Regions from separate parts of the Homo sapiens genome. Here all the other regions are linked to region 4. Evidence: promoter capture Hi-C in 16 types of primary human blood cells and fetal thymus (Javierre and others, 2016). All regions are on one chromosome and are shown on one strand. Each heading gives the region's core, a stretch centred on a gene start or on the middle of the fragment in contact. The rest is flanking DNA. Distances are from core to core; before and after follow the strand shown.

What was found. Contacts are between HindIII fragments. The CHiCAGO score rates a contact against its expected background, and 5 or more counts as called.
Region 1: a fragment that was not itself captured here is called in contact with the fragment with the promoter of DARS1-AS1 in region 4 in 1 of 17 cell types (activated CD4 T cells); the score reaches 5.3 in activated CD4 T cells.
Region 2: a fragment that was not itself captured here is called in contact with the fragment with the promoter of DARS1-AS1 in region 4 in 2 of 17 cell types (neutrophils and activated CD4 T cells); the score reaches 6.8 in neutrophils.
Region 3: a contact is called between a fragment that was not itself captured here and the fragment with the promoter of DARS1-AS1 in region 4, in 7 of 17 cell types (non-activated CD4 T cells, monocytes, neutrophils and 4 more). The highest score is 9.3, in non-activated CD4 T cells.
Region 5: a fragment that was not itself captured here is called in contact with the fragment with the promoter of DARS1-AS1 in region 4 in 5 of 17 cell types (non-activated CD4 T cells, total CD4 T cells, naive CD8 T cells and 2 more); the score reaches 11.6 in non-activated CD4 T cells.
Region 6: a contact is called between a fragment that was not itself captured here and the fragment with the promoter of DARS1-AS1 in region 4, in 1 of 17 cell types (naive B cells). The highest score is 5.2, in naive B cells.

Annotation. Positions count from the first base shown.
Region 1 is chr2:136,284,928-136,287,627 of GRCh38, reverse strand. No RefSeq gene overlaps it. Among named protein-coding and RNA genes, the nearest start is that of CXCR4, 170 kb to the right of the region's middle. The HindIII fragment of the contact is 2,411 bases long and covers 232-2,642 here.
Region 2 is chr2:136,313,949-136,316,648 of GRCh38, reverse strand. No RefSeq gene overlaps it. Among named protein-coding and RNA genes, the nearest start is that of CXCR4, 200 kb to the right of the region's middle. The HindIII fragment of the contact is 2,187 bases long and covers 160-2,346 here.
Region 3 is chr2:136,334,352-136,337,051 of GRCh38, reverse strand. No RefSeq gene overlaps it. Among named protein-coding and RNA genes, the nearest start is that of CXCR4, 220 kb to the right of the region's middle. The HindIII fragment of the contact is 754 bases long and covers 1,028-1,781 here.
Region 4 is chr2:135,983,919-135,986,618 of GRCh38, reverse strand. It overlaps DARS1-AS1 (DARS1 antisense RNA 1), which reads right to left and starts at 1,443. Exons shown (of 4, transcript NR_110199.1): 1 at 1,103-1,443. DARS1 (aspartyl-tRNA synthetase 1) reads left to right here and starts at 993. Exons shown (of 16, transcript NM_001349.4): 1 at 993-1,216. The coding sequence starts at 1,151. RefSeq lists an enhancer at 1,147-1,246 and a silencer at 1,297-1,356. The HindIII fragment of the contact is 7,953 bases long and covers 1-2,700 here.
Region 5 is chr2:136,358,284-136,360,983 of GRCh38, reverse strand. No RefSeq gene overlaps it. Among named protein-coding and RNA genes, the nearest start is that of CXCR4, 240 kb to the right of the region's middle. The HindIII fragment of the contact is 983 bases long and covers 831-1,813 here.
Region 6 is chr2:136,417,696-136,420,395 of GRCh38, reverse strand. No RefSeq gene overlaps it. Among named protein-coding and RNA genes, the nearest start is that of CXCR4, 300 kb to the right of the region's middle. The HindIII fragment of the contact is 7,220 bases long and covers 1-2,700 here.

The sequences.
Region 1 (2,700 bases), core at 188-2,687, 300 kb before region 4:
GGCAGGACCTCCCCAAGCTAGTTCTATGGAGAGTCGGAGAGGGGCACTGCTTGCCAGAAGTGGGAGTGGCTCCTAGGTAAACCCACAGATGCCCACTTTCCAGTACTTGAGTGACAATGAAAGGGTTTATTTATCTCTTTATTCATTCACTGAAGATTTACTGAACATCAACTGTGCACCAGGCATTGTTCTAGGCCCTGGAGAGACAGCAATGAATAAGTATTTCAAGCTTAAATTCTCCTGGGGGTGACAGACAATAAACATGATCCGTAGGTAAAATATATAGCCTGTTAGTGATAAGGGATAAAGGGGGAAATATACATATAATGGAAATTGATGGCCCTATAGGGATAAGGGAAAAAAATTAAAGCAAAAAAGGAGGAGAGGAGGTATGTGTATAGGGAGTAGGGGATCCAGAAAGGCCCTGCTGAAGTTCATCAGAGAATGAGCATCCCAGACATCTCAGGAAAGAGCATTCAAGGCTGATGGGATAGCAAATGCCAAGGCCTCGGGTGGGAGCATGCTTGGTGTGTTCAAGGAATAAAAAGTAAAAGTTGCCAGACATAACACTGGATACCCAGTGACATATGAATTTCAGATGAACAATAAATAACTTTTTTAGTATAAGTACATCCCGAATAGTGCATGGTCACATACTTCGGCAAAAAAAAAAAAAAAAAAAAAAAACTCCATGAAACATTTGAGACACATTTATACTAAAAAGTATTCATTATTTATCTGAAATTCAAATTTCACTGTGCATCTTATTTTTTTTATTTGGCTAAATCTGACAACTCTATCTAGGTCAGTGTGACTGAAGCAGAATGAAAGAGGAGGGATGTTATCCCCCAAAAGAAGATATTTTGACATCCTAATCCCCACTACCCCAGGAGGTGACCTTTTTGGAAATAGCTCATTGCAAATGTAAGTAGTCGTGGTCATACTGGAGTAAGGTGGGCCCCTAATCCAGGATGACTCGTGTCCTCATATGAAGATGACCATGTGCAGGTGCATGGGGAGAAGGCCAAGGGGACTGGAATGACTCAGCTACAAGCCTAGGAAGGGAAAGAGAGCCGGCAAACACCAGAAGTGAGAAAGAGGCTAGGAAGGATGTTTCCCTTCAAGTTTCAGAGGGAGCATGGCCCTGCTGACACCTTGATTTCACATTTCTAGCCCCTAGAACTGCAGGACAATGACTTTCTGTTGTTTAAACAACCTAGTCTGTGGTGCTTTGTTACAGCAGCCCCAGAAAACAAAACAGGGAAATAGCAGAAGATGAGGGCACAAAGCCAAGGAGGGTGATGGACAGATCGAGTAGAGCCTATAGGTAACATGACGCCTTTAATGTTTGATTTTTTGTTTTTTGTTTTGTTTTGTTTTGAGACAGGGTCTTGCTCTGTCACCCAAGCTGGAGTGCAATGGTACAATCTCAGCTCACTGCATCCTCTACCTCCTGGGCTCAAGCTATTCTCTCACCTCAGACTCCCAAGTAGCTGGTACCTATGGGACTACGGGCACATGCTACCACACCTGGCTAATTTTTTTTTTTTTTTTTTTTTTAGACAGGGTCTCACTAGGGTTGCTCAGGCTGCAGTGCAGTGGCACAATCTCAGCTCACTGCAACCTCAACCTAATTTTTGTATTTTTTGTAAAGATGGGGTTTTGCCATGTTGCCCAGCCTGGTCTTGAACTCTGGAGCTCAAGCAATCCTCCTGCCCTGGCCTCCCAAACTATTGGGATTACAGGTGTGAGCCACCGCGTTCAGCCACGTGATGTCTTGGCTTGTACTCTGAGTCAGCTAGAGAGTCATTGGAGAGTTTTGGGAAAGGAGTGGCTTGTGTAAAGAGATGAAAGAAACAATCCAGGATATCCAAGAAAGGAAGTGGCAGCTCCAGGAAATACACGCAGTTTAGTCCTGCAGGAGAGTTTAGTAAAGACACTAGGACCAAGGCTGGAAGGTGAATGGCAGCCACATCTCAAAGTGCCTTCTGGTAACTTTAAAAATAGGGATATACATCCCCCTGTAGGCCACTGGAAGCCAATGGAAAACTTCGAGCAGAGAGATGGAATCAAATATGCCCGCTGTTCACGGTCTTTGTTATTTGTCATGATAGAGGTGGGCGCCAAAGAGTTTAAGAATGACTGGACAGTGACAGAATTCCAAGTACCACTAGAGGGGAGGGAAAGGAGATAATTTTCATTAGATCAGAGGCCTTAGTCCAAGCCCCCCAACCCACACAATTGAGATAGCCACATTCCCACATACCCCTGAGGTAACTTGGAAAATACCTGGGGTTTCTCTGGAACATTAGAGAGTTTACCTGAGACTTCTGGTAGGCTGAGGGAGACAGATTCCTGTCTAAAGGGCAGGATCTGGAAGAGCAAGGAGGTGCTCTAAGAAAGACAGCAACAGACTTGACCCTGCAACTGTAAATCAAGAATCCAGGGACCCAGCTCACTGGCTGGAAAACTTCAGTGTTCAAAAGAAACTCAGGGAGTTTCTGAAAATGCAGATCCTGAGTCCCACCCCGGTTATCTTGATTAAGTAAATGTGGTCCAGGAACTACAGGTTGAGAAACTCTACCCTCCTGAGGGACTTGTGGATGTTCACACAGATAGTGATAAAGGCTATGGAGAAAGCTTAAAGTAGGCAAGGAGGAAGGAAATTGTAGTGAGGAGGGGCACCGTTGCCATTTTGGA
Region 2 (2,700 bases), core at 4-2,503, 330 kb before region 4:
ACATTAAAAACTTATATTCTCAGAACTTTCAACAAGTGAAAATGTAGCATGATTGTTGTTTTCTCCGTGTGTTGTAAACTTGAATGCCTTTAGAACTAAATAGAGGGCTCTCAGATGCAGAAGAGAGCATAGTCATCTACAGAGAAAAGAGAAGAAGCTTTTGAAGCAATGAATGCCATGACAATTTCAAAACTGGAACAAGCCAGCAACTTCACAAAGTATTTTATCAAGCCAAACCAAAATATCAGCCACCCCATGTAACACCAGGAAATGTTGTGAGGCATCTGACAGAGCACACAGCCTTTTGAAAATCTCATGTGCACCTGCCTTTCCTCTGACTCTCTCTGCCTAAAGAAAGTTTAGGGTCCTATACATCATCCTCTTGCTTGACAATGTCTGGGAGTTCATGAGTTCTTAATCCTCTGTCACTGGAACAGACTTAGAGCATCCCAATCAGTAGTTCTGGAATACAGCTGGTATAGAATGAATCATAGAATTTTAAGAAAATGTAAGGTTCTGGACCAAAACCCCGGAGATTCTGCCATGGTAGGTTTGAGGGCGTCTCCAAGCAATTTCAATGATCACACAGATTTCAGAACCAAGCCTCTCAATCCTTGACTGTAAAGCTGATTAATTTTATAAATCTATTAATTATTGTTATAAATTTATGTTACACGCACACACAATTTGCAGGAGGGAAAAGCCAATATATTCAGGATAGGGAATTAGAACAGTTTTTATCTCTCTCTGTCTGAGTTTCACCAAATTCAGAGCCTGAGACAGGGACTTGCACACAGGTAGTTTATGTTAGGAAGTGATCCCAGGAAACAGGCATGATTGACTAGGAAGAACAGAGCAGAGGGAAAGGGAAAGCCTATACTGGCATTCATTTTCAAGCTGATCATCTCTATGAATTCCTGAGGACCAGTCCCACTGGGGATTCTCTGAGGATCTGTATAAAATCTACCTTGGATATGTCCATCTGAAGAAAAGAATATAGGGGCATTTATCCACAGGGTTCTGTCATCCCTGGTCTAGGGTTGCCCCGAAGGGTAGTAATACCTTCAAATGTCCAGGTGTTTTTGTTTTTGTTTTGAGATGAAGTTTTGCTCTTGTTGCCCAGGCTGGAGTGCAATGGCATGATCTTGGCTCACCGCAACCTCCGCCTCCTGGGTTCAAGCGATTCTCCTGCCTCGGCCTCCTGAGTAGCTGGGATTACAGGCATGTGCCACCACACCCGGCTAATTTTGTATTTTTAGTAGAGACAGGGTTTCTCCATGTTGGTCAGGCTGGTCTTCAACTCCTGACCTCAGGTCATCCACCCACCTCGGCCTCCCAAAGTGCTGGGATTATAGGCGTGAGCCACTGCTGTCCAGGTTTTTTAATGTATCAGAATGGCTGGACATCTCCCATCACAGTAGCCGAGAAGTCCCATGGCAGAAAGCAAGAGAAGTGAGGAATGTTTGAAGAAAGGTGTTCTCAGAATATACCTGCATGAGCTGGTTGCTATAGCAATGTTGAAATTAAAAAGGTGGGCCAAGACTGGGTGCGGTAGCTCACACCTATAGTCCTGGCACTTTGGGAGGCCGAGGCAGGTGTGTCGCTTGAGCCCAGGAGTTTGAGAACAGCCTGGACAACATGGCACAATCCCGTCTCTATGAAAAAAAAAAAATACAAAATTTAGCCGGGCATTGTGGTACACACCTGTGGTTCCAGCTACTCCAGAGGCTGAGGTGGGAGGATTGCTTGAGTCTGGGAGGTGGAGGTTGCAGTGAACCATTATTGTGCCACTGCACTCCAGCCTGGGCAACAGAGTGAGACGCCTTCTGGAAAGGAAAGGAGAGGAAAGAGGAGAGAGGAGAGGAGAGGAGGGGAGGGGACCGGAGGGGAGGGGAGGGAAGGGGAGAGGAGGGGAGGGAAGGGGAGAGGAGGGGAGGGGAGGGAAGGGGAGAGGAGGGGAGGGAAGGGGAGAGGAGGGGAGGGAAGGGGAGAGGAGGGGAGGGAAGGGGAGAGGAGGGGAGGGAAGGGGAGAGGAGGGGAGGGAAGGGAAGGGGAGAGGAGGGGAGGGGAGGGGGAAGAAAAAAAACAAAAGAAAAGAAAAGAGAAAGAAGAGAAGGGAAAGGGAAGGAAGGGGAAGGGGAAGGGAAAGGGAAAGGGAAGGAAGGGGAAGGGAAAGGAGAGAAAAGGTGGTCCAACATGATATGAAGCAGGGCACATAAGCTGCCCAGTGCAGTCCACCCCTCACACTGCCCAGCTTTGCTCAACCCTATGTTAAGTCCAAACTATCACAGAATCTTCAAGGTGGTGGCCAGCTGAAACCTCTATCAAAACCTTCAAACCCAAGCTTCTGTGGTAGAGATCCTAGTTCCTGCTGATGCAGCTGATCCTAAAGCCATATCTGATATTTTTCATCTTCTTTCTGAATCACATGTTTTAGCTTTCCCTCCCCCTCAGCTAACACTATAGTGAACCCAGGCCATCATGCTCAAAGAATCTGAACCTTCAGTTTCTTTACTGATTTGGGGCTGTGCTTCTTGACCTTGTCCATTAACAGTTAATACCAGGCTTTGGAAGCTCCTAGAGACACCCAAGGAATTCCTTTAGTTCAAGATATATTCCTTCCTATCCTTGCTATGTGGCAGCAATTCTAGTTCTTCATGATCATCACCCTTGCCAATATGGTCCATCAGCATAAGATGC
Region 3 (2,700 bases), core at 155-2,654, 350 kb before region 4:
AGTAATAAGTACCATAGGGAAAACTAAGCAGGCAAAAGGGCAAGAGGGTACTGGAGAATTACAATTTTAAATAGGATGATGTGCAAGGTTTCACTAAGAAGATGAGTGGCATCTGAGCACAAGCCTTAAGGATGAGAGGGAGGGAGCCATAGGCATATCTAGGTGGAGAGCATTCCAGGCAGGACATGCAAAGGACATAGCATGTTAGGTCCAGGACTGGGACTTAAACAGGAGCCATAATCCAATTAGAGATGATGCCACTGGCCATAAACCCTAAGCAGAAGTTCCACGATATGCTTTTCCAGAACTCCTATCATCTGCCTTTTCATGGAAACCCAAAAAACTCTAAGTGAAAATCCAGATTTATGCCAAAGACAAAATGGAGAAGGACTATTCACTTAACTCAAGGCTTCACAATAGGATCCTTTTATTCAGGAAACTCCCCAGGCACATGTAAAATGGTTTTAGATTTAGAATTGTAACTCGCATGATTTTTCAGAAATCCATTTACCACACAAAGCAAGGAACCCCTACAGTGCTGATGCATTTAGTTTGATTTGGTCCTACTCCCTCACTGGTCCTCAGGTATCCCCCATACCTTCTTTGCAAGCTGCCCAGCTAAGGTTAGAAGCCTTGACCCTCAGGGGAGGCCAGCACCAAGTGACGAGGTGAACTCCACAGTGGTGGGCTGCTGCTGCAAGAGGCGCTGGGTGCTGACTCCCCTGGCTATGGTTTCATCTACTGTCTCAGCCACCCTGCCTGCCTCCCAACTCGTCCCAGCCCTCAGGGCTTCACTCAAAGCAGTGGGGCTGTTTCATTGGTTTTTATTAACATTTATTGTTTCTCAGATTCAAGAAAAATATCCAATTTGGAGGACTTAGAAAATCCGCAGAACAAAGAACTGTTTTTAAAACCTCCATAATTCTACCACTCAGAGAAAACCACTGGTGGCCACCCTGGCTGGCTGCTAATTACCGAAGTCACAGGAATTTAGATTGGCTGTCCCCTTTTGTGTCTCCAAAAAGCTTCTCTGCCATAATGCCATTCCCCTCAATATTGCTAGAAGCAAAGGCCTGGGTGTGGGCAGTTAGAGAGGTAGAAAGGATGGAAGTCAATTTAAATTGGCTGGTTCAATTCAAGTTGCAAATATCCATGTCTATAACCAGCTAGGGAGATGCCACACCTACAGACGGGGTGAGGGGGTGGCTATATCTGCAGGCTCATCTTCAGAAAACTGGCTATATGCAGATGCTAGGTCTCTCCTGGGAAGATTGCGAGAGGGGGCAGTTGCAGCATGGTGCAAGATAGGAAAAGGACCCATCTTCCTCTCTCCCAAGGCCTGGGCATGCCCCTCAGGAACCCAGCCCTATGGCAAGGAGTGACCTTAGCACCTAGGGCTGTAAGTCCTGCTAGTGCTGCTGGTACCGCTGAAAAGTAATGTAGCAGTAACAGTGGGGATGTGGATGAGGGGAGGTGTCTATGACAAGTACAGAGGCAGAATGTATCAGTCAGCCATCGCTGCAATATGCCATTCCAAAATAGAGTGGCGTGGACTAAAACAACAACCAATGAGTCTTACCTAGGTACCAGTAGGTTACCCATCAATTGGCTGATCTAGGTTAGGCTTAGCTAGGCCAGATTTCAAACTGCAGGCTGAACCCATGCCATCTCCATGTCTCTCTAAACCACTTTGGAGCTGTGGACTAGCTGGATTGTGTTCTTTTCATGGCAATAGCTGAAGCACAAGAGCACAGGCTCAATTCTGAAGCACATGTAAAGCTTTTGCTCACATCATATCTAATAACATCCAATTGGTCAAAGCAAGTTATGTGGCCAAGTCCAATCTCAGTGGGATGAGGCAATATTCTGCCTCTAGGAGGAGGAACTGCAAACCCACATGTCAATGGGAAACAGGGAGGGGTGAAGAATTGAGGACAAGGCACTCTACCACACTGATATGTCGAATTGTAATCCCCAATGTTGAAGGTGGAGCCTGGTGGGAGGTGGCCAGATCATGAGGGTGGTCCTTCATGAATGGGTTAGCAACATCCCTTTGCTGCTGTTCTCATGATAGTGAGTGAGTTATCACAAGATCTGGTTGTTTAAAAGTGTATAGCACTTTCCCCACCTCTCTCTTGCTCCTGCTCCCACCATGTGAGATGCCTTGCTCCCCCTTTGCCTTTGCCATGATTGTAAGTTTCCAGAGGCCTCCCCAAAAGCCAAGCAGATGCCACCATGTTTCCTGCACAGCCCGCAGAACTGTGCGCCAATCAAACCTCTTTTTGTTATAAATTACCCAGTCTCAGGTATTTCTTTACAGCAGTGCAAGGACATACTAATACACACACAGATGCTATGTAAACAGATATGGGCAACACTCGTATTCACAGTGATAAATAAGATTCCAGGGATTAGGATGTTGATACATCATTTTAGGGGGCCTTATTCATCAATATGAATATGAGTGTTACCTTATTTGGAAAAAGACTCTTTGCAGATGTAATGAAGGATCTTCAGATAAAGAGATTATCCTAGATTAGCCAGGTAGACCCTAAGTCTAATGATAAATGTCCTTATGAGAAAGAGGCAGTGGCAGATTACACCTACCGAAGAGGAAGAGGTAATGTCAAGACAGGCAGAGGTTAGAGCAATGCCACTGCAAGCCAAGGAATGCCTGGAGCCACCAGAAGCTAGAAGAGT
Region 4 (2,700 bases), core at 194-2,693:
ACTAGGACTTATCTTTTTATTGCCAGCACCTGATAGAATGCCTGGCACAAAGTAGATGTTTGTAAATAATCTTTGATCAATTAAATAGGGAATAAAATTTCATACCACCTGCAATTAGAAGGAAAGCTACAGGCAAGCAAGGACCATGGCTGTCTTCTCACTACTCCATGGGGGAGCCTCCAGAGAGAGCCTTTCACTTGCGCTGGGATCTATGTGCACCCCTTAACACTTTGTGCCAGACTAAGACACTACCAAGTCAGTTGAAACGACGGAGTGCAAACTCTGGCAGGGGAAACAGTATTAAACCAAATCTCCAAATTATTTTCAATTTCGATTCAAAACTCATGAATGATAGCTTTTTTAAAAAATCAGTTTTTTAAAAAAGCCTAACTTGGGGATATTCGCCCATTGGGCAACCAACACTATGCACTGTCCCTAACACTGCAACAGATCCAGGCAATCAATGCAATTGTATGCGTTTCTTGTTGTCGTTGCCACTGTATTTACACCTCACTTACACAGGGACTGGTAACCCATGCTGCCTTGGCAAGCCAACTGCACTCCTCTGTCCCAACAAGCAGGGCAATGGATTGCGAAGAGGCCTCCTCCGTCCCCAAGCAGCTACGTCGCCCAGGGGAAGAGAGAAGGCGGGAAAGTCCAAGAGAGGAGAAACCAAGGCCCGCGCTTAGGTGGGTGTTTTAGTGACGAGTCTGCGGTTACAGCCGAGCGGAGTTGAAAGGGCTGTTAGAAGAATGGAGCAGAAGTCGCAGTTGGGACGAAGCTGAAGAGAGCTGGCATTCGCCCAGGTCTACAGCCAGCCACCTGGTAACCCCTGCCCCCGCCCCCAGAGCCAATCCAGCGAAACTACCGCGAATTCCCGGGAATTCCCTCCAACTCCGGGAAAACTCCCGGAGGGGCGGGGCAAGAGTGGGAGGAGACCCTGCGCGCGGCCGCCAGCGCTCCGGGATCTCGAGATAGCCGCAGCTCTCGCGATCTTTCTGGAGCCGCACCTCCACGCGGAGTCCGAGCGCGTGTGCTGAGACCCCAGGGTCGGGAGGGCGGAGACTGGGAGGGAGGGAGAAGCCCCTTTGGCCTGCCTTACGGAAGCCTGCGAGGGAGGGTGGTGTCCACTGCCCAGTTCCGTGTCCCGATGCCCAGCGCCAGCGCCAGCCGCAAGAGTCAGGAGAAGCCGCGGGAGATCATGGACGCGGCGGAAGTGGGTTTCCTCCTTTCCTGGGCCTGGGAGGACAGACCCCTGGGCCGGGCTGCGCCGAGGGAGGGAGGAGGGGGAGTGGGGCCCTACAGGTCCTTGTCGGCACGTTCTCCGCAGGCTGCGGGCGTGGGGTCCGGGCGCCTAGAGCCCTTGCCCCAGCAGTGGGGCCAGACCCTCTCCGGACCGCGTTTCTTGCGGGGGTCACCTGGGAGTTTGGCCTACTAGAAGCGTGTCCCCGGGGTGGGGAGGACGGGAAGAACCAGCCGCCCCGGAAGTAGGAGCGCGGCGTCACACTTGAGTCTCTCTGGGTTAGGCACGTCCTGCACGTAATGCACAATCCCTGGGAAAATTTTAATAAGCACTAGTAATCGATATGTACTCAGCCCTCGTGTTCCTAATGCTTTAGCAAGTAATGACAGTACTTAGCAAAACCATCTGCCAATATGTTTAATGACCATTTCCCATGTGACAGCTTTAAAGAACACATGTCATTTTTATTTACTTTCTCCCTCTCAGTGACCCGGTAAGGTAGGTAATAGGAGTTACCGAGAATGCATTTGAGGTGAAGTGACCCCAAATCACGTGGATAATTCATAACACCCAGTGATCCTTCGGTGCTTTTCAGAAATCAAAGTTTGAAACCATCCTACAAGTTATGTGTGCTGTAGTACTGTTAAGCCTTAATTTCCGTCTGGCTCCCTAATTTTTCTATAAGGAGTTCTGAGTTTGTGGTAAGCAACATGAGAAGTAAGGTCATCTTAGAATACTAAATGAGGAAGAGTCACTGAAATATTAATAGTACTAATTATGAATGCAACTTTTTTGTCCTTCACACAATTTAATCTCCTTCTGTTGCCCTCAGGCTTCATTGTGTGACTGTATCTCTCTACTCTGGCCAGGGTTATCTTTTTCTTTAAATTGTTCAGTAAGCGCCTTAAACATGTCTGGTTTTATTTTGGTGTAAACACAAAATCCAGCACCCTCCTGCTCTAAAGGAGAGGATTCCAACAGGTAGCTGTAAAGTGACAGAAACTTAATTGTTTCATACAGATCTTAAGTTACCTTGTAAAAACTAGGGCAATTATTTTTGTGTACTCTTAATCTGCTTAATTACATAAACTATCAGTGTACCCTTACAGATAGTATAGGTCTAGATACAAGGTAGACATTGTGGCAGAGTTATGCCATTTTATAGCTAGAAGAATCTTAGATCATTTTAGAGGTAAAGTAAGATTGAAATAAAGGCCACTTATCTATTTAATAAGTATATTTTGTTAACAGATTGGACCCTAGGTCTTCTGTTTCCTGTTCCTAACTCTAATCTGTAACAAGAAATTTGATATTATTATATTGTCAGTGTCAAACTCCTGTAACCTGGTATCCTGAATCTGGTTTTTAGAAACAGGAAGCTGGTGAATTTTTTGATGATGTTTTACAAAAGGAAAGTTGTAGTTAGCTTATACCCAGCATCTCCAGTTTCTAAAAAC
Region 5 (2,700 bases), core at 73-2,572, 370 kb before region 4:
GATCACAGGTGGCATTAGATTCTCATAGAGCGCAAAGCTGCACATGCGAGGGATCTAGGTTGTGCTTTCCTCATGAGAATCTAAGGCCTGCTGATCTGTCATTGTCTCCCATTACCCCTAGACAGGACCATCTAGTTGCAGGAAAACAAGCTTAGGGCTCCCACTGATTCTACCTGATGGTGAGTTGTATAATTATTTCATTTACACAGGCCAGGCGCAGTGGCTCACGCCTGCAATCCCAGCACTTTGGGAGGCCACGGCAGGCAGATCACTTGAGGTCAGGAGTTTGAGACCAGCCTGGCCAATGGGGTGAAACCCCGTCTCTACTAAAAATACAAAAATTCACTGGGCATAGTGGTGCATGCCTGTGGTCCCAGCTATGTGGGAGTCTGAAGTGGAAGAATTGCTTGAACCTGGGAAGCAGAGGTTGCAGTGAGTGGAGGTTGGTGCAATCTCGAGATTGGCTGCACTCCAGCCTGGGTGACAGAGAGAGACCCTGTCTCAAAAAAAAAGAAAGAAAAGAAAAAAAAAAAGAAAAGAAAAGAAAGCACAATAAATGTAATGCCCTTGAATCATCCTGAAACCATCCCCCCTCCCTGGGTCCATGGAAAAATTTTCTTCCATGAAACTGGTCCCTGGTGCCAAAAAGGTTAGGGACCACTAGTTTAGAGACCTGGGGCACCCACCTAGCAATCCCAATTTTTAAAAATAACATTCTGTGATATGAACAATTACCATCTCCTCACCTACTTAAAATGTGACTAAATGTCTTAAGAAATATTTCTTTATCAATTGGTAATATATAATCTAACCAATTTATTTTAAAAGCTTTAGACAGGTTCCTACTCTCTCACCCTCTTATAACTCAAAAATTACCATTCCTACATGTTCCTAGGTATAAATTCTAGAGCCTGCCAGAATTCTTACACTAGAAATAACTTTGAATATCAGCTGAAATTTGCTGCAAACATTCATGTTTGCATGCCAAGGTCACTAGTCAACCGATCTTAGATTTTCATATAAAAGACCCTCAAAGCGAACTCAGCAGATATCTCTACCAGCACAAAGCACTGGAAACACAACTTGCAAGAGTAAAGAGTTTAAAACCAAGGTTTAAAATAAAAAATGTATTCAACTTTACAGTAACAGCACCTAGGGCACATTACACCTGTATACATCACTCTCCACAGTATATCAGGAGGAGGTGGAGTTATAATAGCCTTACATGGTCTGAGGAAGAAACCTCAGCTATTTCACAATTTGCTGAGGCCCACCTGGGCAGAAACCACACTGATGTTTAAAAAAAAAAAATGGTGCATTATGCAAACCAAGATGGAAAAGATGAATCAAAGTAGGCTTTATTTGTAGGGCTGTTTGGGATATAATATTTCCTTCATAACTGAAAAATAGTCATGCTGCATGTCGGGGAGGAGTTACCAACAAAGCCAGCCTGATACCTCATACTTTCCATAAGGTACACATTCAAGCACAGAGCTTGATTCGTGGCTGTGAGGGTTATTTTCTCAGCTAGTCCATGCTCGCCTTTCTCACTCCACCTCTTAGCACTTGTCCAAAAGTCCTCAGCTTGCATTCTATGTGTTGGGTTGCTTATAGGTCCGGCACATATAAAGCTGATAGGCCCATTGCTAGGAATGCTTTTTCAGCTGTGCAAAGCTCTGTTGAGACCCACCAAGGCACTGCAGCCTTGGGCTGTTGGACTTGCTACTTGACTTTCAAAGCCATTCCCTCCCTTCCCAGGGAAGTTGCTTGTATACTTCACCCACCTCTGTCTGCAGAGCAAGCCTGGCAAGCTTCCCACCATCACTTTAAGGCCTTCAACCTTCAGCTCCTGCTCCACTTTTCCAGAATGGGTTGGAGCCCCTTGTCTGTGTTCCCTTTGTGCCCTACTTCTACCTTCTGTTGTCAACACTTGACAGAATCATATTGAGACTATACATTTGTATGTTGAATTTCAGCCCCATTTTATTTACCTCCTATCTTGGCTCCAACGTGTAAAACTATGACTAGTTTTGAATAGGTTCTCAATCATGTGTAGGTGAAGCCAATTTATGTCATTGTTGAAGCTCTCTGCCATCAAAGAAAAGTTTAGAAAGTAAAGTGAGGCCTGCAAGGGCCTGGGCAAACCCCAGCCAGACTGCCCACTGGGTGGGAACCCCCTCCCCCGAGGCCCACTGCTGCCATCCTCCACTCATGGTGAGCCATTGAGTTCTATCATAATAGCTGGTGGGGGAAGCCTGGCTTCATTGCAGCCTCACTTCCTGCTCTGCCTTTGCTCCTTTCTCAATGTTGAGAAAGGATGCCTGTTCTGATGGGAACATGCATCAGATTGGGAGTTACAGAGATTTGCTGTCCAGAGACTGACAGACAATGATGCTAAACAGGTCACAGCTCCTCTCTGCCCTCAGCTTATTCATTCTCAAAATGAGAGGACTGCCACTTCACACCCACTAAGATGGCTACAATAAAAAGACAGACAATAATAAGCATTGAGAGGATGTGGACGACGAACCCCCATATACTGCTGGTGAGAATGGAAAATGGTGCAGCCCCTTTGGAAAATAGTGGCAGTTTCTCAAAAAGTTAAACCTAGAGTCACCACAGGACCCAGAAATTCCACCCCTAGGTATATATCCAAGAAAAATGAAAAACGTCCAGATAGAAACTTCTGCACAAATGTTC
Region 6 (2,700 bases), core at 136-2,635, 430 kb before region 4:
TGACACAAGGACAGACAAGAAATTAGGATCCATTGATTCCTGTGGAGCCCTGGAGAGAACAATGAGCAGAGCCCACTATAAGATGTTCTGGAACAATCTGGTGCCCACCTGCTCCAAGTTCCTCAGCCATCACTTCCATTATTTGACCCTGTAAACCTTCTTAAAAAGTTCATTAGTCCTTTTTTTGCTAAAGGTTGCCAAACTTTCTGTTACTTGCAACTAAGAAACTCGACTGGATACAATGAACATTCAGGGATCACAGTTAGGTATCAGTAAGCACCCACTATCTGTTAAAAATTAACATTCACCTGCTACCCAAAAATACAGTGGCAAAAAAAAAAAGGAGGCATCATTTTTCGCTCACACAGAAGAAATCCAAAAGTGCATTGTCCAGGGCTGGCGTGGTGCCCTATGGTGTTAGCGATGACCCAGGCTTCTTCTCACTTTCTGCTCCACCATCTTCCACTCAGATTCCATCCATGAGGTCTCCTCACCATCCCAGGACTGTCACTGGGACTTGTTATCCTAGCCATGTTCCAGGCAGGGAGAAGGGAGACGGGGAAAGGAATGGGTCTCCTGCCAGCCAGGTGAATCCCCTTGAAGGAATTTTGCTGGAAGTGACTTCCACTCACACCTCATTGACCACCCCAACCTCAAGGAAAGCTAACAAATATGTTTGTTTTTTTAAGCAGGGCATCTTGAAAAATTCAAAGAGATTTTAAATGTTCTCACCACAAAAAGATAAGTATGTGAGACAATACATATGTTAATTAGCTTGATTTAGCCATTCCATGATGGACACGTATTTCAAAACCCATTCTACATGATAAATATATGCAATTTTTATTTTTCAATTAAAAACAAATTAAAATCTTTAAAATTAGAAATTTTAAAATTAAAAACTAAATAAAAGTTGGAAGAATTGCCATACTCAAATATACAGGGATCTTATCCTAAAAAAACAAGAGAGCATGGATACTGGGTAGGCAACTGGCAATCTCTTTCACACACTGCTTTCTGGACAACTGCTAAGGAAAGGTATTCTGAGGACCATCACCCATCTTTCATCTTAGTTTCCCCTCAACCTTTCTTGGTCGATCCTGTCTAAAAAGATTCCCTAGTCAAAACTCTGGTTTTGAGGAAAATGACAGGAAATTTTCCATTTCCGTGGACCTCACTTGGAATCATCGTTCCACTAGGTCTTTATTGAATGACTTTGAAGACGACACTTAATTCTTCCAAACCTTAGTTGCCCAAAATGTAAAGTCTGTCTCAGTCAAGGACTGACCCAGGCAACAACCTGCAGTCCCTTCGAGGTTAAAGATGATGTAAAATTAGCATTTCTAATAGTCGGAATGTTCAACTACCTTGCAATGAGCAGCAAAGTAAAAGGGATATACAGGTCATGAAGTGGACAGAGCTTTCACAATTCTTCTCAGCCTTTGACCCCAGGAAGGGTTTGACTTGTGCCTTGAGTTCAGATAGAAATGTGTCTCCTTGGATTTCCTTGGAAGTTAAAGAGAAAAAGCTACTGTGACCCAAGGGGTAAACTCACCTAAGGGAGCTGGCGGGGAGGGAGTTAATTTCATCTTTATGGCCAAAATATTTCTAAGTCCCTCTTGGAAGACAATTCTCCATGTGTCTGACTGCCTTTGCTGGAGACTATCTTTCCCAGGATGTTTGTATAGAGAGCAGCCTTGGAAGACAGAAATTGTGCCTCCCTCCAGAGCAAAGAGCAAGGTTGTTTATTGCCCACGTCATAAAGATGGCATCTGCCTCTGGAGTTAAGCCCAGCCATGCTTATTCCCTGTTAGAAAAGATTTGGATTCCCTGAACTCAGGGTACCTCTGTAACACAACTCACTGCACACACAGGCATTACCTGGCCTTCTCCACATTGCCCTGATACAAATGTTGATATTCTGGTTACTGCTAATGTGGAATATAGTAAAGTTATTTGTCTCTGACCCAGGAGTCCACCAGCATCCATTAAACTGTGGCAGGTTAACTTGTCGGCTGGCAAGTGGGGTAAAATCCCAGACCAGTCACAGTCTTAATGTCCCTTTCTTCCTTGTCACCGCCCCCTGTCCCTGACCTACCTCCCAGATGTAAACACTGGCTTAGCACCCAATCAATCCTCGGAAATATATTTTTAACACTTGCAGTTAAATTATAGAAATCTCGAAGTAATTATCTGTGTATTTTAAAGAACTCCCCAGATGCTGAAATATTTCTTCCAGGCACTTAGTCCCTTGCTATGCCCAAATCCTTGGCATGACATGGTTAAAGAATACTTGCCATATCCATGGACCTTTCTCATGGGACACCCACATAAGGCACAAATAGGAGACTGTGTGTCAACCGAAGACTCCAGAAGAGATCTAAGAGTAATGGAAGATGTGTATTTATCTCCCACTTTCATCTTCCCACATTATCTGTCCAAACAGTCGATAGTTGATTTTTTTTTTCCAAGAACTGGAAAGTTAAAGGAATGGGACTGTAAATAATAGGCTAAGCTGATGGTGGGTGAAATGGTCCAGGCTGTTTGACTTTTCAATATTAAAAACCTTCGGTCACCCCAAATACACACAAAGAATGATCAGATAGAAAATAATCTTCTCTTGTTCATACCCAACAATCTGTTGTCATCTGCCAGGGCTACAGCAGAAATCAAACACTGAACAGTAATAAAAAATGATAG